Linked DNA regions of Homo sapiens: region 1 is linked to region 2. The links are contacts of gene promoters, found by promoter capture Hi-C in blood cells and fetal thymus (Javierre and others, 2016). All regions are on one chromosome and are shown on one strand. The core of a region is centred on a gene start or on the middle of the fragment in contact, and the rest is flanking DNA. Distances in the headings are between cores, read along the strand shown. Region 1 holds the start of ARHGEF6 (Rac/Cdc42 guanine nucleotide exchange factor 6). Region 2 holds the start of RBMX (RNA binding motif protein X-linked).

Region 1 (5,941 bases), core at 2,093-4,592, 100 kb after region 2:
TGCTCTTGTGTGAAGCCTGCTCTTTGTGTTGCTGTGACCCCCAGTCTTTGAATTCCCCCTCTTCCCCTATTCCCTCAGTTCATCAGCTCCTTTCTAGCTTCATTTGAGTCCCTAACCAGCCTGGGTTTCATGGGTACCCATTTCACCTATATGCTTGCCACTGCCCTGGAATTCCTTGCTTTGTTGACATTTTACCACACCAACTGTAACTTCCAATCTTTATACAAATAGAACTGGTTCTTTTGCCTTGAGGCAGTGGCCTTGCCATTCTGATATACTTTATTACTCATAGTAATATTTGCTATAGTGAGTGTCCAAAATGAGGCAGAGTTTTATCCAGATGACCTTGGTGAACTCAAGACTGTTTTGGAGGAGGCTGGGTTCACAAAACTTACTCAGGCTTTGTTCTTCATCAGAAGATGTAAGTGATACCTCAATAATACTGCCAGATTTTGTTTGTCTGTAGAGTAAAATTTTGATGAGCAGTTGTGAAAACTGTTCAGATGACATATAAAAATGTGTTTAAGTTCGTCAGATTTGGGAATTTTATTTATCAACAAATGTATTCTGTTTTTATTTCCATTACATAGATTTGGCCATGGGTCAACGTCAATGAAAACTTTTGATTGATTATACTTATTTTGCTTAAGTCACAAGTACATCAAGCAAACCTTGTTATAGAACTATGGACAGACACAATAACATGAATGAGTATGAAAATGATGATGTTGAGTTAAGAAGCCAGAAAAAAGATAGTACCATACTGTGTACTTCCATTTATATAAGATTCTTGAAAATGCAAACTAATCTATAGACACTGAAAATAGATTGGTGGTTGCCTGGCATTTGGAGGCAAAGAGGAAAGAAAGAATTGAAAGGGCACGAGGACAATTTTGGGGGTGATGGAAAGGCTTATCTGGATTGCATTTGTGTGATTGTATCAAAGATGTATGTATATGTCAAAATTCATTAAATCATATATATGCAGTTCCTTATGTGTCAATTACAGCTTAATAAAATGGTAAAAATCATTAACAAGAAAAAATGTTTGTTTTAAGCCATTTAAACCAACCAACAAACAAAAAATCCTTGCTATAATCAGTTACTGTCTATATCAGGGACACCATCTGAATACATTCATTTATTCATTCAGCATTTTTTAACATCTACTGTGTATACCTGGCAGTCTGCTGGTAACACAGTGTTAAATAAAAAAAAACAAGACCCCGAGTTTAGGAAGTTTACATTCTTGTGGAGGAGTCAGATCATCAGATCAACAAGTGATAATAGTAAAGTGTGACAAGTGTCCTGACAGAGCAAGAAAGGGCAGCTTTGAAAATGTTTAGTAGGGTTATCTAAGCTGATTCTTTGGTAGTAGATGCCTGAAGCTGTGTTGAAAAGAATTCTGAGGCTTAGTAGGAAAGAGCTATACATGATCTGATGTCTCCCATGCACGAGGAGAGGTAATCATGGTAAGTGCCACACATTTGCCAACATAGGGTTATACTATTAAAGTTGGCCTTATCATAAATTTCCCAATAGTATGCCTATTTCAAGTGGTTCTGAAAATGTTTGAGAATGATGAAGATCTCTTGTTATAGACAGTTTTTTTTTCAGAGCAGTATTTTAAGTGCAAAGTGTTTTTTTGTTGTTGTTGTTGTTGGGAAAATAAGAATCTTCCATATTGTAGTGTAGACAGAGGACAAGTGCTCTTTTGTTCTCAAACATTCTATTTTTTCAAGTGTATTTTACCCACTTATGTGACTGAGTCTGAGCCTTTGCTAAGGGTACTGCAGCTGGATTATGTAGTGGAACCAGGTCCAGAAAAAGAATTGCTAAAGAATGCAAGTAAACAGGATGTCAGATGTTATCCTTAGCCTATTTCCCTAAACATAGCTTTTTGGCTGCAAAGTAAAATGCCATTCTTCTAGCTTCTGCTTATACACAGTGATGGCTGACAGCAGGCATAATCTTCGTTTGCTTGGCACGTTGTCACCATGCAACTCAACGTGTTTTGCAAGGAATGATCGTGACACACCATCTCTGGGAGATACTATGAGGACATCCGGCTATTTCTTGGAAGAATTTTCTGTCTACCTTCTTTGAGCCCTGTTGTGCCAGCACATCTCCCCATGAGGCTCAGATCTGTCTGACCTAAGAGCCAGTTGGCATCGTCCTCCTAACAGAAGCCAGATTTTCACTGGGGCTAGACTATTTATTGACAGTGTTTTCCCAGACTGGCCCATGAGTGTCTCATTTCCAAGGTCCCCTGAAGTGCTGGCTCACCTCTGTTTCCCAAAGCACTTGCTTGCTTGTCTCTCCTCCCTCCCCAGCATCCTTTTCACTTTCTTCCCTTATAACTTCTTGCACTCTGTGTGCGTGTGTGTGTATGCGTGTGTGCATGTGCGTTTCTTCTTTTTTTTTATCCTAACGAATTTGTTTTGCAGGTTTTGAAAAGGAAAAACCAGCGTTATCCAGGATTGTTAAATTAATTCTTATCTGTTTCCACATCTTGGACCGTGATCTCTGTGGTTTTAAAATCCCATATTTTGAGTGGGTTCCGCTGTTGTTTAAGAAAAGTTGCTTTAAACCTTTGCTCTGCAAGCACCCGAAGAGAACTCATAAAAAGGAAGACAACAGCAGATGCAATCGCGGATGTGGCTTAGTCCTTGCAGCTGCCCCAGAGTGCTGTTTGGAGTGTACCGTCCTCAGTAATGAATCCAGAAGAACAAATCGTGACATGGCTTATATCTTTGGGAGTTTTAGAGTCCCCTAAAAAGACCATCTGTGATCCGGAGGAGTTTTTAAAGTCCTCGCTGAAAAATGGGGTAGTTCTGTGCAAACTGATCAACAGACTCATGCCTGGCTCTGTGGAAAAGGTAAGGGAAATTTGCAGTCTCTTTGGGATTGCTTATCACCAGAGAGCAGCAATCATGTAACTCTTGAGATTTTTCTATTTCCCAGGCCATGGGAATCTCCTACTTTAATATTTTTCTAAGAGTTAGACATTCTTTCTTACTGTTTTTGTAGTTTGAAAATGTAAGAAAATGAAACGTTATTCTTTAGTAATTGGCCCCCAAATTGTAGTATAGGGAAAACCTGTGACACCACTGGCAACAAGGGACAAGGAGAACACTCATATCACAAGCTTGCTCTATCATGGAGATGCATGTTACATCTCCTTGTGTACCGAGGACATGTTTTGAACTTGGGGTACTTATGAGTCTGTGGAAAAATAGAATGATTTATAACAGATCTTGGTGGTGTTTATTGGCAGTTTGATTAAAATCAGTGTAGATTTCCTTTTAGAAAAATCCATTGAAGGAGAGACTATATAGCAACTAGGAAAAAAATAATTCAAAATGTCACATAAAGTTTGTAAAAGCAATAGAAACCAGATATATGTTTCGAATGCAATGTGCGTTCAAAGTGAAACTAACTTTACTCTCTTTAAAACAATTCAAGATTTTTAATAGCTGGAAATCCACGATCACGAGAATAGATAATTTCTAAAGTAGGCACTTTAAGTAAGCTTAAAGGTACAATTTTACATTTACTTTCTTAAGGTCATCATGGACTGTGAGCATAGCACTTTTGCCTTCATGAGCCAGTTTGTATTTTTATTGAGCAAATAAATTTACTTATAATTTCTTAAACTTGAGAAAGAGTGATTAAATAGTGATAAAATGTAAAGAAGTGTGGTCAAATGTAGAGGGGAAATAGAATTTTATTAAATTATCAGGGGGAAGGAGGAGAGAGAGGTACCAGGGATTGCTTCCTTTCTTGAAAGCAAGAACTAAGCTCAAAAAACTGTCTTGGTCTCCCTAATTTGCCATCAGCACACTGGAACAGAAGGCATGAGAGAAAGCTTGTAAGTAGACATGGCTTGCCACTAAAGGTTTGGTGACATTTGAAACAAAGATCGACCGTTTAGATTTTTGCATCACTTCCTTCAGTGGTTATTTCTCTTCCTGGATTGACAGCAGTGTTGCCCCACACCTTAAGAGGCCTGCTTTCTCTAGTTATCAGCAAATGATGAGTATACTTTGCTTGGCATGGGATGACAATCTCCAAGTGACATTTCACTGTGTTCCTCTAGTTTTGTCTGGATCCCCAAACTGAAGCTGACTGCATCAACAACATCAATGACTTCCTGAAAGGATGTGCAACCCTCCAAGTGGAAGTAAGCCTACCCCGGGTGCCTTCCCTGTTGTCATCGTTTTTTTGCTCTGCTAATCAAGATTGGTAGTAAGAGTACTTGTTTATTTTCACTGTCATTGGCCACTGAGTTAAACAGAGGTAGCAGACTGGTGGTCCCCAGTAATGGATTGCTAGTCTGTCTTTTCCAGAAACCAGTTCCAAGCAAAACAAAACAAAATAAAAACTCACACAATAATGCCTTTTATATACAGCATCCAAGCCCTGTAAACAGGCTTCCAGTGACAGAGCTTGTGTGGGTGTGTTCTCCTACTAAGGGGAACCAAAAGTGGGCCACTGACTGTTGGAGAGGGTCACTGTAATCCTCCCAAGTTGAGAAAAGAGGAAAGGCCATTGTTACTCCTTCCCATTAACACTTTAGAACAGAGGCCTTGAAAAGCTGAGAGAACTTGGCTTTGAGGTAGAAATTGTATAGTAAATTTTGTGGCATTATTTTATATTATATGGATCCCTACAGTGTGTATAGGAAGTGTTACTGAAAGGGAGGTGATACTTCCACACGAGCATCAAGTTGCTTAACTTCTCTGTGCTTCAGTATTTTTATCTGTAAAACGGACATGCTAATAGCCAACTCATGGGATTGCTTTAAGAATCAAATAAGGCCGGGCATGATGGCTCATGCCTTTAATCCTAGGCCAAGGCAGAAGGATTGCTATAGCCCAGGAGTTCGAGACCAGCCTGGACAGTATGGTGAAATGGTGACTCTACAAAAAATACAAAAATTAGGCAGGCGTGGTGGCTTGTGCCTGTAGTCCCAGCTACTCGGGAGGCTGAGGTGGGAGGATCGCTTGAACCCAAGAGGTGGTGGAGGTTGCAGTGAGCTGTGATTGCACCACTGCACTCCAGCCTGAATGACAGAAAGAGACCTTGTCTCGAAAAAAAAAAAAAGAATCAAATAAGATACTGCATAATAATTTAGGGCCAAGAGCTCCAACCTTGTAAGATCTATGAGATAATTTATGTAGAGTCCTTAGCATAGGGCCTGGGACAGAAGAAGTACTCTATATTAATAGACTAGTATTAGTCATATTATCCGTGGACAAATAGTTGTGGTTTAAGCATGGACTGTGGTGCTAAACTTTTTGGGTTCAAATCTCAGTTCTCTCTTACTAGCAGCTTTGTGACCTTGGGCATGTTACTTAACTATGACTCTAGGCCTCAGTCTTCCTACCTACAAAATGGGAATAATAGTGGCACCGAATTCATAGGACTCGTGTGACCTTTTTAAAAAATATTATTTCAATAGTTTGGGAGGAACAGGTAGGTGGTGTTTGGTTACATGGATAAGTTATTCAGTGGTGATTTCTGAGATTTTGGTGCATCCATCACTTGAGCAGTGTACACTGTACCCAATGTAGAGTCTTTTATCCCTCACCCTACTCCCACCCTTCCCCCTGAGTCCCCAGAGCCCATTACATCATTCCTATGCCTTTGCATCCTCATAGCTTAGCTCCCCCTTATAAGTGAGAACATATGATGTTTGGTTTTCCATTCCTGAGTTACTTCCCTTAGAATAATGGTCTCCACCTCCACCCAGGTTGTCGTGAATGCCATTATTTTGTTCCTTCTTATGGCTGAGTAGTATTCCATGGTGTGTGTGTGTGTGTGTGTGTGTGTATGTATACATATTATATATATGTATATTACATTTTCTTTATCCACTCTTTGGCTGATGGGCATTTAGGCTGGGTCCATAACTTTGCAATTGCAAATTGTGCTACTA
Region 2 (6,746 bases), core at 1,545-4,044:
GAGAAGAAGAAGAAGAAAAGTGAAAATTGTCCATAAATTCTACCACTCCAAGATAAACTGGTAACATTTTGGCATATTTCCTCCCAGTTATTTTGTCTCCATATGTATTTTTTTAATAGCTCATATTATGTGATCTTGGGCCTTCTTTTCCCACTGTACTCTCTTGTTTGGTGGTTTCATTCATTCTGATGGCTTTTATTACATCTCTGAGATGATAATTTAGCACAGATCTATGCTCTGAGCTTCAGATTTTTCTGCCCCTATATCCCAAACTTGCTCCTCTGAAACCATTTTGGTAAATGACTGTTACCATCTGTCCCACTAATACCAGATACTTGGAGTCATCCATAATGATTTTCTTTTTCCGCAATTCTTCCCCACCCCTTTCCCATCTGTCTTAGTCCATTCCTGCTACTATAACAAAATACCATAAACTGGCTGGCTTATAAACAACAGAAATTTATTTCTCACATTTTTGTAGGCTGGGAAGTCCAAGATAAAGACGCCAGCATATTCAGTGTCTGGTGAGGGCCCACCACCACCAGTTTTCTGGTTCATATAAGTGGCACCTCACTGTGTTCTCACATGGTGGACAGGGGCCTCTTTTATAAAAGTGTTAATCCCATTCATGAGGACCCTACCCTTTTGTGACCTAATCTTCTCCCCAAATCCCCGCCTCCTAATGCCATCACCTTGGGTATTAGGATTTCAACATATGAATTTGGGGGAGGACACAAACATTTAGACCATAGCACCATTAAACACGATACCTATCATATTCATCTAACAATTGTTCTTTCCTCCCCGTGTCCACTGCCGCCACCCTGATTCAAGCCACCATCCTCTCTTTCTGGTCTGCTCCCACAGCCCTATTAGTGTCCTTTTTCCCACACTTACCCCCTACAGTCATTTAATGGGCTCAAAGGTCCTGCCAATCTTGGCTCCCTCATTTCATGCCCCTCATATTCTTGTCACCTGGCCCTCTTTCTGTCCCTTGATATATGCCAAGCTCTTCCTCTCTACTTTGTGTTTACTATTCTCTTCTTTTCCTGAAGGTTTTTCCCTCAGCTGTTCCCATAGCTAGTTTCTTTTCTTCCTTCAGCTCTGATCTCCAAAGTCACCTCTTCACATAGACCTTCCCTGATGTTTTAATCAAATTTGTTCTCCCTAATATTGTCCATCAAAGCAACTAGTTTATTTCCTCCCTGGCATTAATCACAACATGCCATTCTTTTGTTAATTGTATTCAATTTCTTTAAGAAAAAAATTAAAAAATTTTTTGGTTTCCCCCCTCAACAAGTAGGATGGGCAGATGAAATATAGAATGCTCAGTTAAATTTGAATTTCCGATAAACAGCGAATTTTTAAAATATGAGATTTGGGACATACTATACTAAAAAAAGTATTCGTTATCTGAAATTTAAACTTAACTGGGCGTCCCTTTTTTTTTTTTTAGACGAAGTCTCGCTCTGTTGCCAGGCTGGAGTGCAGTGGTATGATCTTGGCTCACTGCAACCGCCGCCTCCTGGGTTCAAGCAATTCTCCTGCCTCAGCCTCCCGAGTAGCTGGGACTACAGGCACACGCCGCCACGCCCGGCTAATTTTTTTATTTTTTATTTTTATTTTAGTAGAGACGGGGTTTCACCATGTTGCCCAGGCTGGTCTCAAACCCCTGAGCTCAGGCAATCTGCCCGCCTCGGCCTCCCAAAGTGCTAGGATTACAGGCATGAGCCACCGCGCCCCGGCCGCGTCCCATATTTTTATTTAAAATTTTTTAACAGCTTCGCAGAATAAATTAGCGTCCCGCATTTTCTTTTTTATTTTGAGACGGAGTCTCGCTCTGTCGCCTGCCCAGGCTGGAGTGCGGTGGCGCAGTCTTGGCTCACTGCAACCTCCGCCTCCCGGATTCTCCTGCCTCAGCCTCCCGAGTAGCTGGGACTACAGGCGCGTGCCACCACGCCTGGGTAATTTTTTGTATTTTTAAAAAGAGACGGGGTTTCACCGTGTTAGCCAGGATGGTCTCCATCTCCTGACTTCGTGATCCACCGACCTTGGCCTCCCAAAGTGCTGGGATTACAGGCGTGAGCCACTGCACCCGGCCTGGTATTTTCATTTATTAAATCCGGCATCCTTACCCACAGGCCTGACTCTTGTCTTTTCCCTGGAGTTGTATTTTCCTGGCCTAGCCCAGAGCCCACCATTTACAAGGTGCTCAGTAATTGTTCTATATGAATGTACTATCTGCATGCTGTTTTGTACGTTTTTTACTCATCTGAAATTTACATGTATTTATCAGAAATTCCCACACTCACTAAAAACACTTGTTAAAGACAATTTTTGAAAATATATTATATTGCCAAAACTTCTTTGTTTTCCGTTTCTGCAAAATTGGTATAGTAGGAGTATCTACCCTCATCACATTTTGACAATTAGAAGAGTTAATGGAAAAGTAAAAGTAAAGTTTTGCACCGTGCCCGGCCCACTAGGACGCTCAATAAACTTCAGTTCTTTATTAAAGGAAGCCTGTGCACCATTTTAGCGTAAAGCAAAAAAAGCGCGTTTGTAAAGAACGGGTGGGGGTAGAGAAAACGGTTAGAAAGGTCTGTCGACCCAACACCGAGGGCCCGGGAAAAAGGGAGGAGAGAAGGGTGAATGACAGAGGAGCCAGCCAATGGGGAGACTGGGAACTACTTCCCCCCTCCCTTTGCGTTTCAAATTCTAAGCTCCGTTTCCATCCGGGTCCTTCAGCCTCGTTCCCGGGCAGTATAAAGTTTGCTGTCTCCTTTGTTCGCCCTCGTTGCGCAGTAGTGCTAGCGGCTTCGCGGTTCGGTCCTCGCACCCGGCAGCCGCCACTGGTGCTGAGCTGCTAGGAAGCCCCTATCGCCGAGCTCGTTGGAGCTTGAACCCATTGTCACCCCTCCGGTACGTGTCTCCTTTCCTCAGTCCGTTTTTCGTGACACTCTCCCCGTGTTAGGACTGGGGATTATATCTCCCTGGAGATGGGGGTGGCGGGCGCCATTTTAAGAACCCAAAGGTTCCGACCTATTTAAATAAAGCTGAGGGGGTCGAGGGAAAACAAATGAGGGGGCCCGTTTGGTTGTATGCTTCTCGAGAAAGTTTGGCTGCCATCTGCGGGAGTTGGTAGCGGAGGTCGGGGCTTTGTAGGCTGGAGCGGGGCGAGGAGCGACCGCACCACGGCGATACCTGCATTGGTATGGCGCTGGCGCTAATGATGGGCATGTGGACTTCCATGCGGGCTGCGGGCTTCGTATTCATTGGCGGCCCCGGAGAAGAAGCCCTCTGAATGTTCCCAGCCAATGTTGGTGGTAAAAGTTAGTCCCCTGACCAGTGTCGGTGGTTCTGGGTTGAATCCAAGTGTCGCCATTTTGTCTTTTACACGCGGTTTTTAATGACGAGTTTTAATTAGGTTCCGCTGCAGTCACGGAGTGTCGAGTGTTAGTGTGTGCGTCCGCGTTCCGTTACTTAATAGCAAACGATGTTGACGATTTGTTTTTATCTTTTTGGCCGGATAGTAGAATTTTCGGTAGGGCGGGGGCCGGTGAAGAAGAGGGGCGGCATAACTTGGCTTAAACTTCACATTTCTCCTTGGATTTAGTAGGGAATCCTAATGAGGAAAAGAGGAGTCGTTGGAAGAGGGCTTGGTGTTAAGGTCCTGTGTCTAGCCTGTGACCTTGGGAGTCTTTTAAAACCATCGTTAGGAAGGGTGTGATGAGTAATTGAATCTTTCAAAGGCAAGAGGACTGGAACTAAAAGTTGCTTTTTCAAATGTTAAGCAGCTGTTGCTTAAGAACAGCTAAGGGTGATCAAGGGTAGTGGTAAAAGTTAAGTTGGCCCTTTTAACCAGTTTTATGTAAATTGCAGTGTTACTAAACTACTTAGTTCAAATTGCTTCCTACTGTGGCTGAGGCTTAGCTCGTTATCGTTTTCTTTAGTTATTAAGGAACAATGGTTTTAGTGGAAAATATGAGAAATGTGCGAAAGTAAAAGTGTCCAATAAACTTGAGGAACTTTTTGCAGTGAGGTAATACTATTCCTTTTCAACAGACTCACCGGCCCAAAAAAAAAAAAACATGGTTGAAGCAGATCGCCCAGGAAAGCTCTTCATTGGTGGGCTTAATACGGAAACAAATGAGAAAGCTCTTGAAGCAGTATTTGGCAAATATGGACGAATAGTGGAAGGTGAGTTGTCTGGCAGTACAGGCTGGGCTATTATAATTAAAATATAAGCTATGATGAATTTGATTGCATTGATCGTCTGACATGATAATGTATTTTTGTCCTCTAAGAAGTTCTGAGCTTTCTGTTTACACATTTACTTTGGTTATTTCATTTGACCTAGGGTAACACTTTATTTTTCTGAAAACTACTTTTTAGTACTCTTGATGAAAGACCGTGAAACCAACAAATCAAGAGGATTTGCTTTTGTCACCTTTGAAAGCCCAGCAGACGCTAAGGATGCAGCCAGAGACATGAATGGAAAGGTGAGATTGTCTACACGATGGATGATAACCTGTTACTAGTGCATAAAATAACATGTAGTTGTCCAAGTCTGGTCTAGGACAGCTTTTGAGTTTTCGTTGTTTTTCAGTATATACCTGTCTGGGATCCACTCATCCTGTTTGTGATCCTGTTCCAAAGAGTATTCTGTAATTGCAGAACCAAATCTAGTAGTGAGTTATATCTTATGCTCGTAACATTCTCTCAGTTCAGAATAATTATGGCATTACATGGTACTTTTTTTTTTTTTTTTTTGATAGTCTCCCTCCGTTGCCTAGCCTGGAGTGCAATGGTGCAGTGCCCACTGCAGCCTGTCTCCCGAGTTCTAAGCGATTTTTCTGCCTCAGCCCCCCCCCCCCCCCCCAGTAGCTGGGATTACAGGCATGCGCGACCACGCCCGGCTAACTTTGTATTTTTAGTAGAGACAGGGTTTCACCATGTTGGCCAGGCTGGTCTCAAACTCCTGACTTCAGGTGATCCAGCTGCCTCCGCCTCCCAAAGTACTGGGATTACAGGTGTGAGACACTGCGAGCCACTGCGCCCAGCCAACATGATACATTTTATCTTGAGATCCATAAGCCATATTTTGATAACTTGGCTTTTGGTTTTGGCTACTAGTTTTGATAACAAGCTGATACCTACTTGGCCTTGTTTTAAATTTTACCATACAATAATGCAGTGGGTTCACCTTATGTTTCAATCCAGATCATCAGTATCGGTTTTAAGTATTAAGAATTTTAAGCGGAAAAGCCCCATTTATGTAAACTGACTATATTTGCAGTGTTTTTTCTTAGACTAATGAGCAACACTTACCCATAACTGCATTTTGAAGGACCAGTTAGTGTCTTAGTGCATAGTAGATGTGCAAATTATTTTTAAATCTTGATTTAATTTAATCGTATCTTTTTTTTTAGTCATTAGATGGAAAAGCCATCAAGGTGGAACAAGCCACCAAACCATCATTTGAAAGTGGTAGACGTGGACCGCCTCCACCTCCAAGAAGTAGAGGCCCTCCAAGAGGTCTTAGAGGTGGAAGAGGAGGAAGTGGAGGAACCAGGGGACCTCCCTCACGGGGAGGACACATGGGTAATAACTTGCGTGGACCTCGGGTTTGGTGTATAAGTTAGGGACTGCAAGCTCACACCAAGTGGATGCTTTGGTTAAGTCCTTGAGGAAAGGTGCCAACTTTTGAAATTGACAACACTTGTTCATCTACCAAAGTGATTGCCAATTGAAAGCATGGGAAGCATGTTTTAGATTATGGTGTTAAACCGTGGACAGTGTTACTTCTTGTCCAAGTAGTTCACTCTGTAGGAAAGGCATTTAAAAATTGATAGGCCAGGGTGTTGGACATGAAAATGAAATCATTTTTATTTTTTAAAGTTAGCTGGGCGTGGTGGCAGGTGCCTGTAATCCCAGCTACTACGGAGGCTGAGGCAGAAGAATCACTTGAACTTGGGAGGCAGAGGTTGCAGTGAGTTGAGATCGTGCCACTGTACTCCAGCCTGGGGGAACAGCGAGACTCCCTCTCAAAAAAAAAAAAAAAAAGTTTTTTAAGACTACCTTCAGTTCTTATTTCCCCAGTTTCTATGACTGCAGTGCATGCTCCATCAAGTACAAGTGAAACTAGACTACCCAAATCAATAATGGTTTTTTTTTGGGGGGGGGGGGGTAGAGTTTAGCACTTGTTGCCCAGGCTGAAGTGCAGTGGCACGATCTTGGCTCACCACAACCTCTGCCTTCCAGGTTCAGGCGATTGTCCTGCCTCAGCCTCCCAAGTAGCTGGGATTACGGGCATGCACCACCACACCTGGATTTTTGTATTTTTAGTAGAGACAGGATTTTACCGTGTTAGACTGGTCTTGAACTCCTGACCTCAGGTGATCCGCCCGCCTTGGCCTCCCAAAGTGCTGGGATTACAGGCGTGAGCCATTGTGCCCGGCCCAATAATGGTCATATTCTTGATGAAGCAAAGAAAACTTTTATAGTGGCCGAGCCTGGTGGCTCACACCTGCAATCCCAGCACTTTGGGAGGCTGAGGCAGGCGGATCACAAGGTCAGGAGTTCGAGACCAGCCTGGCCAGCATGGTGAAATCCTGTCTCTACTTAAAAAAAACCACCAAAAATTAGCTGGGTGTGGTGGCGCACACCTGTAATCCCAGCTACTCGGGAGGCTGAGGCAGGAGAATTGCTTGAACCCAGGAGGCAGAGGTTGCAGTGAGCCGAGA

The links. Contacts are between HindIII fragments. The CHiCAGO score rates a contact against its expected background, and 5 or more counts as called.
Region 1: a contact is called between a fragment that was not itself captured here and the fragment with the promoter of RBMX in region 2, in 7 of 17 cell types (fetal thymus, total B cells, naive CD8 T cells and 4 more). The highest score is 9.1, in fetal thymus.

What each region holds. Positions count from the first base shown.
Region 1 is chrX:136,777,656-136,783,596 of GRCh38, reverse strand. ARHGEF6 (Rac/Cdc42 guanine nucleotide exchange factor 6) reads left to right here and starts at 2,665. Exons shown (of 22, transcript NM_004840.3): 1 at 2,665-2,879; 2 at 4,100-4,183. The coding sequence starts at 2,715. RefSeq lists an enhancer at 4,010-4,229. The HindIII fragment of the contact is 384 bases long and covers 3,151-3,534 here.
Region 2 is chrX:136,876,773-136,883,518 of GRCh38, reverse strand. It overlaps RBMX (RNA binding motif protein X-linked), which reads left to right and starts at 2,794. Exons shown (of 9, transcript NM_002139.4): 1 at 2,794-2,922; 2 at 4,066-4,200; 3 at 4,396-4,502; 4 at 5,433-5,604. The coding sequence starts at 4,092. It overlaps SNORD61 (small nucleolar RNA, C/D box 61), which reads left to right and starts at 4,248; the gene lies at 4,248-4,320. RefSeq lists enhancers at 2,671-3,269, 2,939-3,398, 3,409-3,468, 3,270-3,869. The HindIII fragment of the contact is 13,799 bases long and covers 1-6,746 here.